Regions from separate parts of the Homo sapiens genome. Here region 2 is linked to region 1. The links are contacts of gene promoters, found by promoter capture Hi-C in blood cells and fetal thymus (Javierre and others, 2016). All regions are on one chromosome and are shown on one strand. The core of a region is centred on a gene start or on the middle of the fragment in contact, and the rest is flanking DNA. Distances in the headings are between cores, read along the strand shown.

Evidence for each region. The method cuts DNA at HindIII sites, captures the fragments that hold promoters and counts their contacts. A CHiCAGO score of 5 or more calls a contact.
Region 2: a fragment that was not itself captured here is called in contact with the fragment with the promoter of GTF2A2 in region 1 in 1 of 17 cell types (erythroblasts); the score reaches 5.4 in erythroblasts.

What each region holds. Positions count from the first base shown.
Region 1 is chr15:59,654,668-59,660,612 of GRCh38, reverse strand. GTF2A2 (general transcription factor IIA subunit 2) reads left to right here and starts at 3,098. Exons shown (of 5, transcript NM_004492.3): 1 at 3,098-3,207. BNIP2 (BCL2 interacting protein 2) reads left to right here. Exons shown (of 10, transcript NM_004330.4): 10 at 1-1,467. RefSeq lists an enhancer at 3,062-3,291. The HindIII fragment of the contact is 4,994 bases long and covers 1-4,093 here.
Region 2 is chr15:59,120,734-59,126,678 of GRCh38, reverse strand. It overlaps CCNB2 (cyclin B2), which reads right to left. Exons shown (of 9, transcript NM_004701.4): 8 at 3,052-3,162; 9 at 1,634-1,912. The coding sequence ends at 1,802. Among named protein-coding and RNA genes, the nearest start is that of CCNB2, 19 kb to the right of the region's middle. The HindIII fragment of the contact is 966 bases long and covers 3,021-3,986 here.

The sequences.
Region 1 (5,945 bases), core at 1,849-4,348:
TTTAAAAAGACTATATAACATTTCTATTTGGCTGTTTATGTGAATGCTCAGGGAATTTGGACATGTGTTTTATACAGAAGTGGCTTTTTATATTTCTTCAAGTGATAAATTAGCATTAGGACATATCAGATAGAACAGGCCAGTTTCCTGATGAGATTGGTAGAGATGTTACGGTAGGTTCATCCTTCCTTTTTCCATGTTATATGTGGAGAAGTGTTAAACTTGCTCAAGCAAATGGGAGTAGGAGATAGGCTGAAAATAGAGATTGCTACACCATTCTATTTTGTTTTCATGCCTGTTTTTTCTCCAATCCTATATGGACATTTGAGAAATGGACCACAAATCTGAGAGGGATAGAGTAAAAAGAGGCATTAATGTATGTACTCACAAGTTAGACCTATTTTGCTGTTAAAATAGGTCTGGTCTTGTTATAGGTCATAGGAATTGTGTAGTTTGAGTTGCTGCGAGAAAGAGTCAAGAACTTAGACTTGAATGGGAAGGCCAACTGGTGAGGGAAGTGGGGTATTATCTACTCAAATGTTCTAAGCTAATACAAAAGAATTACCTGGCAAGCATCCCCCTCTGCCCTTCTTGAAATTCTGAATGAACTTAGAATCAGATCAATGGTGAGACCCAGTTATGTAACTTTCCTTTGAAGTTCTAAAGGATAATTGAAAATAAAGTAGTCTGGCATGTTTAACAGTAAGGAGTGACACTAAAATTTGAATATAACAGTATGTTGCAACTATTTATAATAGACCTATTTATGTTTTGAGAACTAAGTAAAATGCTATGAAAAATTCACATAAAGCACGTAAGCACCAAATGAAAATCATTTCGTGCTTTCAAATTAATGATACTAGGCTTGTAGGATGTCTTAGAATCATGTTTAACAAGAAGTTAAAATATTTGCATTTTGAAATTTTTATGCAGTTTGGCTAAGGAGGAACTTGGAAAATAACATTCATCAGCTTCTACACTGCACTTTTTGTATGTGGACTTTGTAAAGTTTAATGTCCGTTTAACAGTTGCTTGTTTATTTGTGTAAACCTAGCTAGTAAATATTGATGATGTTCAGGGCCACTGACTTGCACAGCCCTTGGAGCACTATTCACACAGAACACAATTCAGAGTTTGTTAAGACATTAACACACTTTGATATCTATTCCAAAAATACTTTTGTTACCACAGGTTCATTGCTGTCATTTAGACAAAATTAATGTACTGTGATATTTTCCTACTCTTAAGATGATGTTGCCCAGCCGAGTACTGTCAGAAATTCAGTTCTGATGTCTGTGTGTGCAAGATATTAATGTGGTCCCTGTAAGAAATACCAGAGTTGGTCATGATTTACTAAGGAGATGTAATATTTTCTTTGACCTGTTAGGAATATAACTTGTGTCTTGATTTGTTGCACATCATATTTTTTGCAACATTAATGAATTTAAATAAATTAATTGGAACGTTCGTCTTTGTCTTTTTATCACATTTTTCTTTCATTATGCTACTAAATTTTTGCTTTGAATTATCCTATAAACCTCTTAAATAATTTCAGACCTTTACACTTGTTTCCCTTTCTATAGTCTAAGTGCTTCTATTCTTTGGGGATTAGAGAGTTCAGCCTGCTTTATTTTAACATCAAAACAATAATGAAACTTTGTGTTTCATAGTTGAGATTTTTTTTTAATTAATGGGGAATCCAAGGATGAAACCATGAGTGGCTTAAAATGAAAACATGGCTTTTTTTTTTTTTTTTTTTTTTTGAGACAGTTTCGCTCTTGTTGCCCAGGCTGGAGTGCAATGGCGCCATCTTGGCTCACCGCAACCTCCGCCTCCCAGGTTCAAGCAATTCTCCTGCCTCCGCCTCCCGAGTAGCTGGGATTACAGGCATGCACCAACACGCCCAGCGAAATTTTTTTTGTATTTTAGTAGAGACGGGGTTTCTCCACGTTGAGGCTGGTCTCGAATTCCTGACCTCAGGTGATTCGCTCACCTCGGCCTCCCAAAGTGCTGGGATTACAGGCATGAGCCACCGCCCCTGGCCGAAAACATGGCTTAAATAAGAAGAACTTGTTTAGTTCATAGACCTGCTCAGAGGTTCCAGCTGATACCACTTGGTGTTTTTTGTGGTTTTGTTGTTGTTGTTTTGCACATACTCTTTAATCACTATTCAGCTATTTTGTAGGATAAACTGCTCTACACATGACTGCTGGGTTTAAGCCAGTTAGTGTACCATGCACCCTGACACCTAAAACAATTTGTGATTTTGCAAACTTGAAATTTATAGTGAAGTATTTATCTTGCATATTAGATGCAAATTTTAAATATAACTTCTCCCAAATTAAAGTTCTTCATGAACTGGTCACAAACTAAAAACTTTGCCTGCAGCCCTGTTTCGAGGGGTAAAGAAGATACCCTGCTTACCCTGCTATAATTTTTTTTTTTTTTTTTTTTTTTGAGACGGAGTTTCGCTCTTGTTTCCCAGGCTGGAGTGCAATGGCGCGATCTCAGCTGACTGCAACCTCCGCCTCCCAGGTACAAGCCATTCTCCTGTCTCAGCCTCCCAAGTAGCTCGAATTACAGGCATGCGCCACCACGCCTGCCTAATTTTTTGTATTTAGTAGAGACAGGATTTCACCATATTATGCTGGTCGCGAACTCCTGACCTCCGGTGATCGACCCGCCTCAGCCTCCCAAAGTGCTGGGATTAAGGCGTGCGCCACCGCGCCCGGCCCCTGCTATAATCTTTTCAGAATTCGTCTGCAAGGTCTTCAACACTGTTACCCTGAACACACTTCCGGCATGAAATATGAATGCCCTACATTTCTTAAATTGTGCATCTAACAATGGAGAAGATTAGTCTCTAAAAATTATAATTCCCTTAGGAACGATTTAGTAAACCTGGTGAATTACTCGAGCAGAGCGCCTGTCCACCACTTTAAGGCTTCAAGCTCCAGCCCGACGCCCCTCCTTCCCTCTCCACGCCCTTCCCTGACAAGGCTTGAGTGGCGGGCGAGAGCAGGGCTGGGCGGGGCCTCCCGTCCCTCGGGCGGGGTGTCACTTCCAGGTTCCGCGAGCACTTCCGGGTCGTCAGCTCAGTTCTGCGGTTTCTGCGGCGGCTGGAGAGGTGGTCGGAGAAGTAGGAACCTCCTGCCGGGCTCGTGGCGGCTTCTGTCCGCTCCGCGGAGGGAAGCGCCTTCCCCACAGGTAGTGGGTTAGGGAGGGCAGGGTTAGGGAGGGAAGCAGGGCCGCGCTCCCTGCCGCCCCCCCGGAGTCGGAGTGCGTTGGTGGGGTAGTCTCTGAGGGCCCTTCGCTCCTGGGATCTGCCCGTTACCGACCGTTGCCGGCAAGGCCCCGCGGCCGGCACCGGAGAAGGGCGGCGAGGCGGCGGTGATGGTCGCGTCCCGTGGCGGGAGGCTCGTCGTTCACGGGGCGCCCACAGAACCCACCTAGGGGAGGTCTTCAGCCCACCACCGTATTTTCAGCCAGGTGAATGTCTTAAAGCATCCACTAGCGCCCTGTGAGTTTTGCCGAATTTCGGAGAGCATTTTTTAAATGTCTCATTCCTGTGCTTTGTAGCTTGTTGTTTGAAGTCTGCCTTCCAACTTTCTTCGTGCGAACTCCGACAAAAGGAACGAATTTTAAACTTGGTGGTTTAATCAAAAAATGCTAGGACGAGTTACTTCCGAATTTGACTTCTAATTTTCTGAACTGCAAAACAAGAAGGGAACAATAAATTTCTGTGGCTGATACCACATCTAAAAGATTAGAACACTTAACAAGGAATTTTTAAAGAATGTAAGAACATTGAAATCAGCACTTTTAACAAACGTTTAACGCAGGGCTATTTTCTAGATAAACTCAAAAATTTGTCAAATGGGACACGATGCACGATTCTGTATTCCTACTCTGTGGAGTTTTTATCTACCTATTGGGACTTCTTGCCCTTTTTAACCCCCTCTCCCCTCCCACACGCATATTATACTTACTGATATTTGCCTTCGTTTACTGAACAGATTTTTTTTTGGCTCCTATTGTGTGCCAGGTACTGTTCTAGACGCCTATTTTACTTAAGTGAACAAAATAAAAAGCTTTGCCCTCATGGAGCTTACATTCTATTAGAGGATGCAGAAAATAAAATATATAATGGTGTTAGAAAGTGATGGTGCCATCAAAAAAAAAAAGAGAAATATAAAGGAGTACGGGAAAGTTCCAGAGTGGAGGTGGGAACTGGTATTTTAAAGATGACGGTGGTCAGTTTGAGCCTCATTTAGTAGGTGTTATTTGAGCAAAGACTTGAAGGAATTAAGAAAATTTGCTAAGTAAATATCAGGAAGAGCATTCAGGCAGATAGGAAAGCCAATACAAATGCTTTTAGGCCTGTCATGTTTGAGGAATAGCAAGGAAGCCAGTGTATCTGGAGAGGGATGAGCAAGAGTTTTGGGGGTGGAGGGACAAGAAGATAAAGTCAAAGAGATCATGGTAGCCGGATCATTGTAAAGGCTGATAGAAGCCATGGGAGATTTTGAATAGAGGAGAGGTATGTTGTAACTGAAGTTTTAGAAGATCACCCTGGCTGTGAGTTGTGATTAGAGTGTAGGGGTGAGTGTAGAAGCAGGGAAATCATTTAGGAGATTTTTGCAGTAATCCAGATGACGAGAGTGGCCCAGGTCAGGGTGATAACCGTAGGGATGGTGAGAAGTGGTTGGATTCTGAATGCATTTTGAAGGTAGGCCTTACAGTATTTGCTAGGAATTGGATATGGAGAGTGAGATAGAGGGAGTGGAGGATGAAATCAAAGGTTTTGCCCAAGCTCGTAGAAGTATGGAGTTCTTTAAGCCACGATGCAAAAGATAACAAATAGAGATGTTGAGTAGGCAGCTAGATTCAGGAGTGAGAAGTTCTATGCTATATGAATTTGGGGATCATCAGCAGTGGTACTTAAACCATGAGAATAAATGTTATCCGTAAGGAATGGGTGTAGACGGAAAGCAGCAGAGGCCTAAGGACTGTGTCCTGTGATATTAAGAGTTTAGCGAAAACGGGATCAACCAGCAAACAGTATTAAGAAGGATGAACTTGTGAGTTAGGACAATCCGAAAAGGGCAGTGTCCCAGAAGCCAAGGTAAGATCCTGTACGAAAGAGGAGGGAGTAATCAGCTGTGTCCAATATTCTGAGTGAGGCTAGAGAATTAGCTTTAGCATTGCCATTGATGACCTTCACCAACCTGTTTCCTTAGAGTGCTAGAGGCAAAAATTAGCTTAAGAGAAAATAGGAAAAAAGGAATTGGGAGACAGTGAATACAGACAAAACTAAGGGATTTTGCTGCAAAGGGGAACTGAGAAATAGGATGTAGCTGGCAGGGGATTTGGGTTGAGGGGTTTTTGTTTTGTTTTACTTTTTAAGGTGGGAGAAGTAGCCACCTATGTGTTTGCTAATGGAAATGATCCGCAGAGAGGGAAAATTTGATGGTGAGGGAGAGAAGTAACAACTGAATTGTCAGAACAATATCCTTGAGTGAATTAGAAGACAATGCCTGATACAAAGGTAGAAGGATTGGATTTAGATAAAAATAGGTATAGAGTTCAACTATAGTGACAGGGAGGGAGAGTATATGGGTACAGGTTGGGCATCCCAAATTCAAAATGCTCCAAAATCCAAAACTTTGAGCACCAACATGACACTGAAAGGAAATGCTCTTTGGAGCATTTCAGAGCTTGAATTTGGGGTACTCAATCACTAAGTATATACGATGCAGATATTCTAAAATCCAAAAGACTTCAGGTCCCAAGCATTTCAGATAAGGAATGTTCAACCTGTATAGCTATTGGTAGGTAGCTGGATGTGGCTGTGAGTCTGGAAGTTATTGCTGCAGTTTCCTCAGTGAAGTGTAATACTTTGTGTCATACTCAGATACATTTCTAATATATTAGCACTTTAACAT
Region 2 (5,945 bases), core at 2,254-4,753, 530 kb after region 1:
GACCTAAAACCATTAAAACCCTAGAAGAAAACCTAGGCAATACCATTCAGGACATAGACATGGGCAAAGACTTCATAGCTAAATCACCAAAAGCAATGGCAACAAAGCCACAATTGACAAATGGGATTGAATTAAACTAAAGGGTTTCTGCACAGCAAAAGAAACTACCATCAGAGTGAACAGGCAGCCTACAGAATGGGAGAAAATTTTTGCCATCTATCCATCTGACACAGGGCTACTATCCAGAGGCCACAAAGAACTTAAACAAATTTACAAGAAAAAAAAAAAAACATCAAAAAGTAGACAAAGGATATGAACAGATACTTCTCCAAAGAAGACATTTATGCAGTCAACAAACATATGAAAAAATGCTCATCATCACTGGTCATTAGAGAAATGCAAATCCAAACCACAATGAGATACCATCTCATGCCAGTTAGAATGGCGATCATTAAAATGTCAGGGAACAACAGATGCTGGAGAGGATGTGGAGAAATAGGAATACTTTTACACTGTTGGTGCGAGTGTAAATTAGTTCAACCATTGTGGAAGACAGTGTGGTGATTCCTTAAGGATCTAGAACTAGAAATACCATTTGAGCCAGCAATCCCATTACTGGGTATATACCCAAAGAATTATAAATCATTCTACTATAAAGACACATGCACACATATGTTTATTGCGACACTGTTCACAATAGCAAGGACTTGGAACCAGCCCAAATGCCCATCAGTGACAGACTGGATAAAGAAAATGTGGCACATATACACCATGGAATACTATGCAACCATAAAAAAGGATGAATTCATGTCCTCTGCAGGAACACGGATGAAGCTGGAAACCATCATTCTCAGCAAACTAACACAAGAACAGAAAACCAAACGCTTCATGTTCTCACTCATAAATGGGAGTTGAACAATGAGAATACATGGACACATGGAGGGGAAAACCCCTGCCAGGGGCCTGTCACGGGGTGGGGGACTAAGGGAGAGATAGCATTAGGAGAAATACCTAATGTAGATGACAGGGTGATGGGTGCAGCAAACCACCATGGCACATGTATACTTATGTAACAAACCTGCATGTTCTGCACATGTACCCCAGAACTTCAATTAAAAAAAAAAAAAGTTCAATGCCCATTAAAAACCAACCAAACAAAAAAATGCAAAGCCATTTACCCCATAATGTACCTGAAAAAATGCATGCCAAGCTTCACCTTGAACAGGATGCCACGGGCCCATTTTCTCCAGCTGTGACCCATGGGATGGCTCTCTCTGGTCTCAACAATGCATTTGAGAGAGGGACCCATTACAAGGGTTGCTCTGGGCCAGGCGTTCCTATGCAGGAATTAGAGAGCAGCTGACTAGCTTCTAGAAAGGAAAGTGTCATGGTTATCCTCCCATTTAAAATTTTCATAATAAACTTATTTGTATTCAAGAAGCTTAGGAATAGGTTTAGTGTTCACTGAGGCCAAGTTCTAGTTTTTTCCATTTGAGAAAATGGTAAAAAGGTCTTGCCCAAGCCATAATGGCAGTAATTTACATGCTATTCATAACAGCTCAAAAAGAAATTAGTCAAAGCAAGCTTTCACTGATTTCTTAAGTACAGAATACACAAATAAATACACATGGGATACCTTAAGAAAAACCAATCGCTTTATTTTTCCTCAATATATGTTTAGAAAACTGGTCTGAGAAGAGGTTTCATGAGATAGACCAGAGGACTATGTACAAAATCAAGAGTTCTAAACCAATAAGAAAAAGGGCACAATGAAGCACACATCCCCAGGGGCCACGGCAGCCTAGGACCTTCCTATCAGTGGGGAGGCAAGGTCTTTGACGGCTTTTGAGTTCAGCTGAGGGATCATGCTGATCTTCAGGAGTTTGCTGCTTGCATACTTATTCTTGATGGCCTGCAGAAGTCATTTGTGATTAAGCACATGTCAGGAACCCCCAATGATACCTTATTCCTAGTCTAACTCACAATTATCAAAGGTCCACGGCTACAATCATGATCACATTGATGATGCCCAATCGCTGAAGCCAGTGAAAGCTCTGGGCTCATAACATGTGCCTGACCATTTCCTTCCATCCCCATTAATGAATAAAACACAGCTGGTAGCACAGGTGATAGGAACAAATGATTTCAAGGTCCAAGTAGCAGGCTTCCTCTTGTAGGCTACCAGAGGGATGGGAGGGGGAGCTGTGTTTACGACACCTAAGTGCCATCAGGACATAACAGGTTCACCAGGCCTGGCAGCAATAGGAACAATTAAAAGACAATAAAAGACAATAAAAGAGGGTGGCAACTAGTGCTTAACAAATCCCAGACAGTCCTCTCAGGACTGAACACATATTACACTTCCATGAAGCAAATCATGTTGTGAGGACACTTGAGACTCTTCTGAGGTTCAAATACCTTGCTCTTTGCCACCACACACTTGGTGAGCTCTGATGTTTGGTGTCACACAAGCACAGGACAGCACTAAGTCTCCTTTGGCTCCTCCTCATAGGTGGGCCATGCAGAGATAGACACCATGCCCTCAGGATGCCCCCTGAATGGGCCTCTTCCCTCTTAACCATGCTTGCTAATTAGGCGTTTTTCCATCATTGCCTCAAAAGACCCTGGACAAAGGCTCTGAGTAACATCACCTGAATACGCAATATAATACACCGCCATTTGAAGTGGGCCCTCTCTCTTCCCAATCACATGCAGACCAGCCTTCCCTGCTTGCAAAGTGCCCTCCCCAGGATGCTAGTATAAGCACAGAGTAATTCAATACATTGAGTAACCGACTGGTTGACTGGGATCTGGGCCTGGACATGGCTAGCCTATCGACCTTGTTTCAAATAAAGCTTGCTTTCAGGGTTTATCAGTATGCTCCATACCATACTGTACCAGAAAAATATAAAGGATAAAGGATTTGTGCTAAAACTCCCACATGTTATTAATATATTTACATGACGGCACACACCGCCCCCCCCCGCCCAACATACACACAAAACCCAGAACCTAAAGCTTTCCACAGCTTAAGAAAACAGTAGTACTTACGATGAATTTAGTTAAGTTTTCATTTACTTTCACCACATTCTTGGCCATGTGCTGCATGACTTCCAATACTTCATTCTCTGTGTATCCTGTGTAATACTGCTGCTTTAAGTTCTGAAACACAAGAAGCAGACAGACAGACATGACTGAGGGGCAAGAGAAAACCTCTGCTTCTTTAGAAGAACACATCTTGTACATGATGACATTACTTATGTAAAAGCTGTACAAGAATATTCTTACCTTCTGGAAATTCAATCAAAGCCCTAACCACTCTCACAGTACCAGCAACACTAAAGCAGCTGGTAAATGCAAGATGATTCTGGCCCTGAGACCAGACTAAATCAAGTGCCAAAGGTCCCATACGATCTTTCAAAGACGTTGCACAGGTAAGAGTCCTTCAAGTAACAACACTGAAAGGGGATGGAAAAGGAGACACTTAAAACAAAGTGCCCCTTTACAGTGCTGGCCACATCTCACACAACCCTGCATCAAAGCCCTGCCCAGCTGTCCCTGTTATGAGCTCAAGAGCCCAAACAGACATACTGTCAGTCAGGGAAAGATGTTCGGAAATAAGAAATAAACTGTGCTACAAGCAACAATCTATCAAATCCAGAAGAACTAGGACTACCTATGATTCTCTTGTTGAACCCTGTGTAGTTAAGCACCAAACAGCAGAGAGAACTTAGACACTACCACACCAAGCCTTGTGACCTAGCCTCCCAAAGAGTAAAATTCAAGTAAAAGAACAGCTGTCAATTGATAATAAGATGTATCATGTAAGAAGATATATAAATTGGCGGGGCACAGTGGCTCACGCCTATAATCCCAGCACTTTCGGAGGCCAAGGCAAGAAGATCGCTTGAGCTTAAGAGTTTCAGACCAGCTTGGGTAACATTGGGAGACCCTATCTCTATGAAAAATGAAAAATTAGCCAAGCTTGGTGGTGTACACCTATAGTCCCAGTTACTTGAGGAGCTGAGGAGGAAGGATTGCTTGAGCCCAGAAGTTTGAGGTAATGAGCGATATTAACGCCATTGCACTCCAGCCTGGGCAACACAGTGAGACCCTGTCTCAAAAAAAAAAGAAAAAAAAAGAAAAAAAAAAAAGGCCAGGCGCAGTGGCTCACGCCTGTAATCCCAACACTTTGGGAGGCCGAGGTGGGCGGATCACCTGAGGTCAGGAGTTCGAGACCAGCCTGACCAACATGGTGAAACCCCATCTCTACTAAAAATACATAAATTCCCCGGGCATGGTGGTGTGCGCCTGAGGCAGGAGAATCGCTGGAACCCGGGAGGCAGAGGCTGCAGTGAGCTGAGATCGCACCACTGCACTCCAGTCTGGGTGACAGAGAAAGACTCTGTCTCAAAAAAAAAAAAAAAAAAAAAAAAAGATATGTCAACTGACTTTATTTAAGAGTTCTGTGACAAAAATTCTAAAAGCGAAAGTACGTTTTTTTCATATGCATGGTATAATTGGCAAAATAAACCACAATTTAATCTCTTTTTTTCTTTGAAGACCGGGTCTCAACTCTGTTGCCCAGGCTGGAGTGCAGTGGCACTATCAAAGCTCACTGCAGCCGTGACATCCTGGGCTCAAGTGATCCTCCCACCTCAACCTCCCTAGTAGCTGAAACTATAGGTGTATGCCACCATGCCTGGGTAATTTCTCCTTTTTTTTTTTTTTTTTTTTTTTTTTTTTTGAGACAGAGTCTCATTCTGTCGCCCAGGCTGGAGTGCAGTGGTGCAATGTCTGCTCACTGCAACGTCTACCTTCCGGGTTTAGGCAATTCTCGTGTCTCAGCCTCCTGGGTAGCTGAGACTACAGGCATGTGCCACCACGCCCAGCTAATTTTTGTATTTTTAATAGAGACAGAGTTTTACCATGTTGGCTAGGCTGGTCTCAAACTCCTGGCCTCAAGTGATCCACCCGCCTCAGCCTCCCAAAGTGCTGGGACTACAGGCATGAGCCACTGCGCCCAGCCAGTTTCTCTGTTTTTTTGTGGAGGCGAGGTTTCGCCATGTTGCCCAGCTGGTCTCAAACTGCTGGGCTCAAGCAATCTGTCTGCCTCAGCCTCCAAAACTGCTGAAACTACAGGTGTGAGCCACTGTGCCCAGTCTACACAATTTAATCCTAAAATACTTTGAAGGGAAGAAAGAGGAAACGAGTAAAAACTGAAATAATGCACAATTTCTAGCCTTTTGAAATAAATTCTCAGAAAACTGGGAGAGCGAAGCACATTTAAGAGTAAGGTGACTAAAAATGAGCCATTGGTACCATGTACCAGTGACATTTTTGCCTCAAATGTTTTATTTATTTCAAAAAATTCCAAATCTACAGAAAAACTGAAAGAATGATCCTCTATATATCCTTCATGTAGACTGATCAATCATGAACATGTGCCACGTTTCCCTCCTCTCCCTCTCTGTGTATACTCACACACAATTTTTGCTATGCCATTTGAAAGCGATTTGCAGATATCACAGCACATCCCTGCTAAATGTTTCAGAAGCATATTCTAAAAAGTACGTTTTCGTACCTATCCATAACACCATTCTCACATAAGAAACACTGTCACCAGTGACTTTTTTTTTTTAAGCATCGAGGCAGTTCCTTTTAAAATGTCTCACATTCTGGATTTGCATATTTCCTCAAGATTTAATTCATGTCAAACATTTTGGGCATGAATAGGTGATAATGTATACATCTTACTGCACAACACGGCATGGCAACTCAGGTCGTCTGCCAGTGGTAATGCTGAGCTTAATCACTGGGTGAAGGTGGAAACCACCAGACCACTTCATCATAGATGTGCAGTTTTGTTACAGAATTAATAAGTATCTATGGGATGATAAATTGAGACCACGTGAATCTTGTTTCCCAAAATTATTCCATCTAAT